Linked DNA regions of Homo sapiens: regions 1 and 3 are each linked to region 2. The links are contacts of gene promoters, found by promoter capture Hi-C in blood cells and fetal thymus (Javierre and others, 2016). All regions are on one chromosome and are shown on one strand. The core of a region is centred on a gene start or on the middle of the fragment in contact, and the rest is flanking DNA. Distances in the headings are between cores, read along the strand shown. Region 1 holds the start of TGIF2 (TGFB induced factor homeobox 2). Region 2 holds the start of AAR2 (AAR2 splicing factor). Region 3 holds the start of SLA2 (Src like adaptor 2).

Region 1 (3,401 bases), core at 91-2,590, 340 kb before region 2:
CCCACGACGCCACCTGCAGCCACTCCCGCACGAACTTTCTGACAACTCCCCTAGCTGGTCCCGACACTCCCCCGGGCCGCGCACTCACGCCCGCATTCCCAGCAGTTCAGACAAAGCGCGCAACCTCCCCCGCGGCCCAGACCGAGTCGGAGCACATGGCTCCTGGGTCGGCGAGGAATCGTCCGGCGCTCGGGGCGCTTGCACCCCACAGTCCCCACACCCCGGGCCGACTCCGCGCACCAGCTCCCGCGCGGGCCCGCCATCCCGGTGGGACGGGGGCTCTGGAAGAAAGAAAACTCACGTGTCTGTCCCGGGGCAGGAAAAAGTTTGGTTCCCACCCCTACTCCGGCAGTTCGGGGCTGGCCGACTCTTCGGGGCGCGGGGACGGCGGAGCGTGCGCGCTCGGCTTTGTGCTCCGAACTGGGCCCGGAGGGGGAGGGGAGGGGAAGGGAGGGGAGGGGGCTGGGCTCCCACCTCCGCGCCGCCCCCCCCCCCCCAGCCCTGCGCCCAGACTCCATGTTGGCCGCCCCCTGCCCCGGAGACTACGCGCTTCTCCCGCGGGAGGCTTGGATCACCTTCGGCCTGCCCGAGGGTCCCGGCGCGAACAAACTTTCTCCGGGGCGCCGGCCCCACGCGCCCCGCTTCCTTGGCCAGCCTGGGAGTGACAGATGCCTCGGAGACAGACTTTCCTTTGTTCCAAAGGAAAGGGGAACTCGCGCGGGCTCCCCAGGGCCCCCCCGCTCCGGGCCCTTCCCGCGGCCCCCACCCCCAGCTGTCACTCTCGGCCGCCCCCTGTCCGGCTCGGCGGCGGGGGGGCCCTGCTGGCGGTTAGCAACGTGCACTTTTGAAACCAAACAAATCCGTCCCCCCGCGCGCTCACTCAGGTCCGGTGCAGGATCGGCCCTCTCCTGGGGTGGGATCCTATGAAGCTGGGCCCCCCACCAGGGCCCCAAGCGGGCTTCCTCCCGGGGGCTGGAACAGTCCCCCACCGGCCCCCGGAGCGCAGCGCCGTCGGGACTCACAAACACCCCCCGGGGGCCGTCGGGACTCACAAACACCCCCGAGCTCACACACCCCCTACCGCACGCGCCAGGACGACGCCCCCTCCCCGTCCGGCCGAGAAAAAGAAACTTTCCAAGTTGTCCGCGCGCCCCCACCCCCATCTGGCCCTCTGCTGCTCCCTGCACTGACTTTTCCCAGCGGCTTTCGGGTCCACGCGGCCTCCGGCTCGGCGCGGGGCGTCCCGGCGGGGAGCGGGGGGCGCCGGGGGCGCGCGCCGCGTACCTGCCCGGCCTGACACTCGGCCTGACAGCTCGCGGCTGGAAAGCACCTCGCGGCCTGACGTCAGATCCCCTCTCCTCCCCCCGCGCCCTCTGCGCCCTCCCCCACCCGCCCGGAGGGAGAAAACAAACTTTGTGCGGAGCGCGACGAGCTGCGCCCACCCCCCGCGGGGCGGGCCGTCGGCGCCGAGGGGCTTCGCCCCGCCCAGCGCGCCCGGAGGGGGCGGGGCCGCGGGCACCTTCTTCCTGCGCCCACCCCGCCCTCAGGAATGCTGCATGGCCTACCCATAGCGGCGGTGGGAGCCTCCGCCGGGGAGAGCCCGCTCGGGGGCAGGAAGTGGCCCGGCCCTCCTCGTGGAGGGCGTTTCCGGAGCGCCTACTGTGCTCCTTGCCGGGGTGGGGGTCGTTACCGAGTGGGAACTTCTGCAAATCCTGACTTTTGTCACTTCGCGCCCCGCACAAGATGTCCTGCCGGCGGTGCGATTGGTCCCGTTGCTTCGAGGGGAAACTGAGGCCACTTAGTCCGGGCACTTACCCGCAGCTAGTTAAGGACTAGGCTCTGATGGAGACGCTTGTTACGACCTCAATGGCCTGTAGAATCTGGGAGGCCGCCTCCGACCTAAGCCCAAAAAGCACATGATCGGGCTCACAGGGGGCGGCCAGAGGTGAAAACAGCCAACGCTTTACAACGACGCTGTGCGGGGCACTTCGTGTGTGTCATCCCGTCTCATCCTCGGGTGATAGGGTATGTGTTGTCCTATGTAAGTCTCTGGCTTACTCATGAGCCGCAGAGAGGTTCTTGATTTGCTTTTGTCACACAGTCAACCGGTATCATTCAGCCCAGGTCGGTCGATAGTGAAGCCTGATCCCTTACCCCTTGTGCCCGGCCTTAAACGATCAGTCCAGGAGCTCCCGGAGTTCCTGTCTGGTTTCTTTTTCCTCTTCTGCCAGTTACACCCTACTCCAGAAGGTTTTCCTTGGCCTCCCCCACCCCAGTCAGTACATTCTTCCCTGCTCTCTGCTGTGGGTACCACATACTGTGATATTTCTGTTAACCAGCCTCTTAGGGCATCCCCCCACGCCCCCCAGCCCTGTACCCGGACACGGCTAGGTCCAGATATCTAGGGCCCTTGAGCTTGGAAATCGCTTTGAAAACAGCTTTTGGACTTAATTACCCTTTAGCAATGGAGAACTCTAGGAACAAAACTCTTAATTTTTTCCAAACAAGCCTTAAGCCAATCAGAATGCTGATTAAAGATTGTTAAGGTTTCACCTGGACACCCCATAGAAGCCAGACTTCCTGCAAATGTTAAAAACCTCCTCACGGCAGCGGGTGAAATGTCAGTGGCACTGCCTGTTGCTCTCCATTTCACAGACAGGGAAAATAAGGCCCAGAGTGTGGGTCAGAAACAATTTTTTTGGCCGGGGAAGTGGTGCTCCCCCCACGGCCCTGTGAAAGAAAAAGCCACGTCTGGGTTGCCTTAGGTAAGAAATGTAAAACCAATGGGCCTTGGCCTCTAGGAAATGTATGGGACAGGGACCTTCAGAAGAGGGGAGCCCCAGGGGGAAATGGGTGCGACCAGGTGAGCCTGGAGAGGGGGCTCTGGTAGTGGCTGCTGAGCTTGAACTCCGCACTAGGCGTTTTTCTCCTGTATGCGTAAGAGCCACATTCTGCCCTTTCTGGGGAAGCCACTGGGGGCCTGGGCTAGAGGAAGAGACCGCACCGTAAATTGTGCCTGCAGCAGCCCCTTAGACGAGTGTTTCCCAAGTCTGGTGCTAGATGTGGTTGGGAAAATGGAAGCGGGGGAGTGCTGCCTCCTCCTCCACCTGAGAGCTGCATAACAAAGACCTGGAGCCCCTCCTCTCTCCTGGAGGACGGGGTAGTGGTGGAGGGAGGCTGGTAGCCGGTCAGATTTTGCACGTAAGCAAGCTTCACAGATAAAGCCTAAGTGCAATTAGAGTTTGAGAATTACCGTGTCAAGTTTCTGAACTAGTAAGTATCAGAATTTAAAATGTGTAGATTCTCTAAGACAGTAATTCCACTTCTAGGAATCTGTCTTTTGAAGTAGCTGTACAACAAAGATAAATGCTTATAGAAGATTGTTCTTTGCAGAACTGTTC
Region 2 (3,461 bases), core at 846-3,345:
TGTGGCCTAGGCTAGTCTGGAACTCCTGACCTCAGTGATCTGCCCGCCTCGGCCTCCCAAAGTGCTGAGATAACAGGTGTGAGCCACCATGCCTGGCCCTGTTTACCCTTTTTACTTTAAATAAAGCAGTGCAGAAAGGAAGACCAATCCTTTTCCAAAAATAAGAGCACATTTTATCATTGTTACCTCAAAACCACCACAAATGACTCTTACCCTGAATCAGCACTTTGTGTTTCACCAAACTGCAAGTCACAATCCATTAGTGGATTAGGAAATCAATGTGAAGGTCTCAACCAGCATTATTTTTTAAACGAAAATAACAGAATTTTTGAAATATCACAATACATCATGAGTAGTAAAGCTAAGTACTGTTTTCTGGAGCTTTGTGTGTTTGTGTGTATACTTGGTTGTGCCATAAAATGTATTCGTTACTGTAGGTCACAGTCATAAAAGTTTGAAAGACTCTGCTCTAAATAATTCGTATCAACAGGCCGGGCGTGGTGGCTCACGCCTGTAATCACAGCACTTTGGGAGGCCGAGGCGGATGGATAATGAGGTCAGGAGTTTGAGACCAGCCTGGCCAATACTGTGAAACCCCATCTCTACTAAAAATACAAAAAAAATTAGCCGCGCATGGTGGTGTGCGCCAGTAGTCCCAGCTACTTGAGAAGCTGAGGCAGAAGAATTGCTTGAACCTGGGAGGCAGAGGTTGCAGTGAGCTGAGATCACACCACTGCACTCCAGCCTGGGGGTCTGAGCGAATTCCGTCTCAAAATAATAATAATAATAATAATAATAATAATAATAATAATAATAATAATACGTATCATCTTCCTATTTGTAATCCTGAATTCAGAAAGTATTTAATATTTGCTGAATGAACAGATATTCCATTTACAATAACAGCTCATCAATTAGCCATTTTCCCTTGTGACATCTGTGTGCTCCTCCTTGATAATGACGTTTCTTTCATGCTAATTCCACCAGTCTGTAATTCTATTCACTATATCTCCAGCAGCTGGCACAGGGCCTAGCACAGAGGAGATGCTAGGAAAACGTTTATTAAATATGCATAGAACTCTGCAGTCTACCAGCCCCTGTCACTGACAGCTCTGTGAGTTCCTCACAGTCCTGGAACACCTAAAGTCACATCCATCCACTTCTCTCCACCACCTCCCTAATCCAAGCTACCATCGTCCCTCACTCAGAGTGCTTGCTCCTCAACCCATTCTCCATTCAACAGCAGTAACCTTTTCAAAATGCCAATCTAATCACAACACCACCCATGTCAGCTTCTGAGTGGTTTCCCATATGGTTCTTGAAAAACCAGAATTCTTCCTATTACCTACAAAGCCTGCACGGTCTGACTCCTGGCAACCCCTTTAGCTTGTGTCACACAATGGTCCCCCACAAGCTCTCTGTTCCAGCCACAACGGCCTCTTTCAGAACCTGAAATTGGAGGCTGTCTCCATATAGAAAACTCTTCCCTCCCCACTTTGTCAAATCCTTTTTTCTGATCTCAGCTCAATATTCACCTCCTCAGTAAAGGTTCCTTGCCCTGGGGCTAGGTCAGGTCTCCTGTGATATAATCTGGGGTGCCTTGTACCTTTCCGTCTCAATGATCACAACTGCAGTTTTGGATGTTTGATTGAAGGCTGTCATCGCCACGAGACTTGAGTCCTGCTGTATCCCTAGCACAGATTCAACGCTTAGTAAACATTTATTTAATACAAGTATGATATCCATTTTGTAAACGAGAAACAAAGCCTCAGTTCGGGGAAAGACCTTACTGGAAGTCACGCAGAGAGTAGGGCAGAGCCAGGTCGAGTGCAATCAGGGTCTCCGGCCCCCAGGCTCTAAAGTTAAGAAAACCGCGACGTAACTCTGGCGACGGCTTCTCAGGAAGGGCCTCCAGAGACACCAGCGTCCCACAAACAGAGAACCAGCCGCCCCGGCGAGGTGGGCCTAGTTCAAGGCACTCCGTGACTCTGAGCCGAGAAGAGGGGCGGCCCAGCCACACATACACAAGGAATCAGGAAAGGAAAAAGAGGCCAGGAGGCCACACTCACCGCCTCGCCCCACGTTCCGGTACAGCGGAAACGCACCGGAAGTTCTCCAGCTTTGGCGTCTGACTGGAGCGACGGGGGAAGCGGTCCGGCAGAGCCCTGGGTCGCGGGAAGAATGGCCCGTGCCTGCAGGTTCCGCCGGATGCAAGGTTGCCTTTTGTTATTCTTAGTTTCTCGTTTTAGCTTCTGAATTGTGAACAACTTTCATTAACCTATGCATTTTATATCCCCGTCCAGAAACACAGCCACCAGCCATCTTACTTTGGGCTCAAGCAGTCATGGTCACTAAAGCACAGCCAAGGCTTGTACCAGTGGCTACTATTCAGAAGTAGCCAGTCAGGCGCTCGGTCACTGTCTTTGTCAGCCAGTCTCTATCCCGGTCACAGTGTCTCAGCTTCCAGTCACACTCAGCCCTCGGGGAGAGCCTCAGAAACCCAGCCACCAGCCCAGAGAGAACCAGCGTCAGCCTCCGCTGCTGCAGCAGCAGCGGTCGCCACCTCAGTCCCTCTGGCCATTATCACCCCGTGTCCTTCCTGCAGGCCAAGTCCTAACATCTCAGTCAGGCTATCAACGCACTAGGGAAGGAATCTGCCTGTCTTGTTCCTCACTGTTTCCCTGGAACCGAGCACAAAGCCAGGCACAAAAGCTCAGCTGAGTACATATATTATGCATTTAATTAATAATGATGATAATTTGGTATTAATAAATAACTATTTGTGGGTCTAACCCTGCACTATTAATCAGGGTTCCACCAAAGATACAGAGCCAGTAGGAGATCTATATTAAGTGATTTATTGCCAAGAATTGGCTTATGTGATTTTAGGGCAGGCCACTTGGGTATTTCTTTTTTTGAGACGCAATCTCACTCTGTCACCCAGGCTGGAGTGCAATGGCGCTATCTCGGCTCACTGCAACCTCCACCTCCTGGGTTCAAGCCATTCTCCTGCCTCAGCCTCCCAAGTAGCTGGGATTACAGGCGCCCACCACCGTGCCTGGCTAATTTTTGTATTTTTAGTAGAGACGGGGTTTCATCTTGTTGGCCAGGCTGGTTTCGAACTCCTGACCTCAGGTGATCTGCCCACCTTGGCCTCTCAAAGTGCTGGGATTACAGGCATGAGCCACCGTGCCCGGCCCACTTGGGTATTTATAATCCTTGCACTAACCCTTGTAAGGTATGTGTATTCCCAATTTGCAGAAGAGAAAACTGAGGTTCAAAGAGATGTTACACAGCCAGAGAATGGCAGAGCTAGAATGCAAACCAAGGGCTGTCTGTTCTTATCTCTTGTGCTGCTGCTCCTTAGCTTGTCTGTCACATTTCCTCAGTGACAGCTGGACACGCCAATCTGTCTCGGTCAAAATTTATCTCTTAGTGGGTTGCAGACTAGACCGGGCCCT
Region 3 (3,415 bases), core at 710-3,209, 410 kb before region 2:
CACCCTTCTGGTGTGTTGGATGTGTTCACCAACCTGGAAACTCTCTGAACCTCGTACTTTAGGGATTTTTATGGAAGCTTCATCACATAAGCATTATCAATTATTAACTCAATCTCGAGCTCCTCTCCCCACTCCAGAGGATGAGGTGGGACTGAAAGCCCCAAGCTCATAATGATGGCTTTGTCTTTCTAGTGACCAGTCCCCATCCAGGAGCCCACCAAGTGTTGCCTCATTAGAACAGAAAACACTTCTGTCACCGAGGAAATTAGAAGGGTTTTAGCAGCTCTGGCCAGGAGCCAGGGAGGAACACCAGTGCATATTTCTTAGTGGATAGACCTAGGATTTTAAATTTTGTAATTCTTAGGTGCCTCCCTAAGTAGAAAAGGAGAGTTATGCCGTGGGATTCTTTTAAGAAGAGACCAGAGATTCCCTACTTCCTGCCCCATTCATGAACTGCACCTTGAGGCTTGTTTTGAAGATGTGCGTATCATAAGAAGACGGGCATTACAGTTGTATGGCAGCAGGAGTGGGAAGGTGGGCTCAAGCTCAAGTCCCTCCCTGCCAAGGCCCACATCCCTGAGTGGCTGTCACCCATTCTAACGTCCTGATTAGAACTCTCTTGCAGAAGTGTGCCTCCACTCTGGCTCCTTCAGCTCTGTGTGCCAAGTGCCTACAAGGATAAAAATCAAACCAGCCTTCCCTAGGATCAAAGGAGAACCTGAGCAGGAGTGCTGTAGCTGGCAAGGCCCCAGAAAGGGCTGCATGGGCTGAGCTGGAGTCAGGAATCATTTCAGTGCAGTGGGCCCTTTGTCTCCAAGAGTACTAATCCCCCTAATGGGGAAGCAGCGAGAGGGTGTGGTTAAATCTTAATGAAGAGTGGGACTGAAGGTAACACACTGATCAAAGACAATTCAGCCAGAGTCAGATTCTTTATCCTAGACCAGTGATTCTCAAGCTTGGGCATGGACTGTGGCTCATGCTTGTAATCCCAACACTTAGGGAGGTGGAAGTGGGAGGAACAATTGAGGCCAGGAGTTTGAGATTAGATGGAGCAGCACAGTGAAACCTCATCTGTACAAAAAAAATTTAAAATTAGCCAGGAGTGCTGGTGCACACCTGTAGTCCTAGCTACTCAAGGCTGAGAAGGGAGGATTACTTGAGCCTGGGTCAAGGCTGCACTAAGCTATGATTGTGCCACTGCACTCTATCCTGGGTGACAAAGCAAGACCCTGTAAAAAAAAAAAAAAAAAAAAAAAAAAAAAAATCAAGCCTGGGCATGCATCGGAATCACCTGGAGGCATGAAAACAGATTGCTGGGCCTACCTCCAGAGTATGATTCCATAGATCTGGGATGCGGCCTGAGAATTTGCATGTCTAACAAATTCCCGCTGAGGCTGCTGGTCTAGGGACCATACTTGGAGACCACTGTCCAGATACTGCTGCTATTCAAAGTGTGGTCCCCAGACTGGCAACATGGGGGTCACCTGGGAGCGTATTAGAAATGCAAAATACTGAACTCTGCCCCAGACCTTCTGAATCAGAGCCTGCAGTGCAACAAGATCCCCAGGTGATTCCTATACACATTAAAGGCTGAGAAGGCAGTGCTTCCCACACTCGTCAGTCAAGGGAATCTCCTGCAGGGTTTAAAATTTAGATTCCTGGGCTCCCTATCTGGAGACTTGGATTTAGAAAGTTTGGGAGATCCCAGAAATTGCTACAATTAAGTCCCGCTGAGTGATTATTATGGTCAGGCCAGCATGGGAACTCCGGCTCATTTTCCTCAGTCCTGTGTTCCTTGGACAAGACTAAGCCACAAAGCCAGAGAAAAACCTTTTGCTCCACGATCATGACAAGGCAGCAGCTGCTCCCCTAGAAACAGGAACTTGGGGAAGGTGGCTCCTCGACGGTCTGTGATGCCGTCAGAGGAAACGGGTGGTTGTGAGAACCACAGAGTCTGCAGTCGGAGCTAGAGCTCCAAGGACCCCACGCCTGTGTCTCTGTGACAGAGCTCAAAGGGCCCTGGGCCTTCCCTCCCTGGCTCGGCTGTGCTTGGGAGGGTTCCCCAGTCCAGAATCCCTAAGGAGCATGGGGCAGCTGATCCATCCCTGGTGTACAAACTGCTGACTGCAGACAGATGCTGAGCTACCCAAACCAACACCTAGCCTCTCCCTGAAGATCCTCCCAGGCTGAGAGAGTTCTGGGTGTCCTAGGACCAAGGACACTGGCAGACTTCCAGAAGGGCCCCCAAAGCCCTAACCTGTCCAGCCAGAGCATGCGTCTCAGCAGAGCTGTCTTCCCAAGCCTTTGATGACAAACCAGTAAGTATGCTTGCTTTTGTTCTTGGATGGCCTGGAGACAGGTGAGGAAGAATGGTCTCCCCTGCCCCGACTGGGACTGGGCTTTATTTGCTGTTGGGAAAAAAACAAGCTCAAGGAGAAGGGGGAGTGGTTCTACTGAGGCTGTAAAGAGGGGTGGTTTCTGGGGGTCCCAGAAGAACCAAGACTCACCTGCTCCACCTTTGACCTCCTCTTGGAGCTTACGCTCTTCCGTGCAGCTTGTCTTCACGCCCGTCCTAGTCCCATCTCAGGTGCGCACTTGCTGTGTGACTTTGGGCCCCTCTCTGCGCTGCAGTCAGACTCCAAAGTCAGGAACGTGAGGGCTACCATCTCTCAAGACATTTCAGCTGTAGAGCCTACAGTGCACTCTCACTCTCAAAGGGGTGATATTTCTCAATTGGAAGAGAGGGAGAGGTCTCCCTTTAACTCAATCCAAATTCATTTTTTTTTTTGAGTTGGGGTCTCATTCTGTTACCCAGGCTGGAGTGCAGCGGCGTAATTATGACTAACTATAGACTTGAACCACTGGGCTCAAGTGATCCTCCTGCCTTAGCCTCCCAAGTAGCTGAGACTACAGGCATGTACCACCATGCCCAGCTAATTCGTTATATTTTTGTAGAGATGGCAGGCGGTGGTGGGGGTGGGGGTGGGGGTTCTCACTATGTTGCCCAGGCTGGTCTCGAACTCCTGGCCTCAAGCAATCCTCCTGTCTCAGCCTCCTAAATTGCTGGGATTACAGGCATGAGCCACTGTGCCTGGCCAAATTCATCACTCTTACCCCCACTGCTGAAAAATGATCTTCAGAAGCACAAAATACACATGATGGCAGGCCCAGTCCTGCACGAATGGGCTACATGAACAGAATCACATGGTTGTCCTCTCAGGGACTTGGTCACTGTATCTGAAATGGGACCCAAGTGAGATACTGAAAAAAAAAAAAAAAAAAAAAACACAATATTCTGGGCAGCGTGCTCATCTCGGCTGCCGTTGACTAACTTTTTCCTTTCACCCGATGCCTCATGTCCTCCGGAAAGTGCCTGGCACATAGTAAGTTTTTCAAAAATTTGTAGAGTTAATGA

What was found. The method cuts DNA at HindIII sites, captures the fragments that hold promoters and counts their contacts. A CHiCAGO score of 5 or more calls a contact.
Region 1: a contact is called between the fragment with the promoter of TGIF2 here and the fragment with the promoter of AAR2 in region 2, in 11 of 17 cell types (erythroblasts, total B cells, megakaryocytes and 8 more). The highest score is 14.1, in erythroblasts.
Region 3: the fragment with the promoter of SLA2 here is called in contact with the fragment with the promoter of AAR2 in region 2 in 2 of 17 cell types (erythroblasts and total B cells); the score reaches 5.5 in erythroblasts.

Annotation. Positions count from the first base shown.
Region 1 is chr20:36,571,536-36,574,936 of GRCh38, reverse strand. TGIF2 (TGFB induced factor homeobox 2) reads right to left here and starts at 1,340. Exons shown (of 3, transcript NM_021809.7): 1 at 1,192-1,340. It overlaps TGIF2-RAB5IF (TGIF2-RAB5IF readthrough), which reads right to left and starts at 422. Exons shown (of 5, transcript NM_001199535.2): 1 at 302-422. It overlaps DLGAP4-AS1 (DLGAP4 antisense RNA 1), which reads left to right and starts at 1,662. Exons shown (of 5, transcript NR_109939.1): 1 at 1,662-2,025; 2 at 3,394-3,401. RefSeq lists silencers at 984-1,153, 1,224-1,313, 1,344-1,663 and enhancers at 2,164-2,223, 2,842-3,394. The HindIII fragment of the contact is 13,842 bases long and covers 1-3,212 here.
Region 2 is chr20:36,235,112-36,238,572 of GRCh38, reverse strand. AAR2 (AAR2 splicing factor) reads right to left here and starts at 2,095. Exons shown (of 4, transcript NM_001271874.2): 1 at 2,070-2,095. LOC105372602 (a long non-coding RNA gene) reads left to right here and starts at 2,107. Exons shown (of 3, transcript XR_936695.2): 1 at 2,107-2,215. The HindIII fragment of the contact is 9,166 bases long and covers 1-3,461 here.
Region 3 is chr20:36,644,740-36,648,154 of GRCh38, reverse strand. It overlaps SLA2 (Src like adaptor 2), which reads left to right and starts at 1,959. Exons shown (of 8, transcript NM_032214.4): 1 at 1,959-2,318. The HindIII fragment of the contact is 2,848 bases long and covers 958-3,415 here.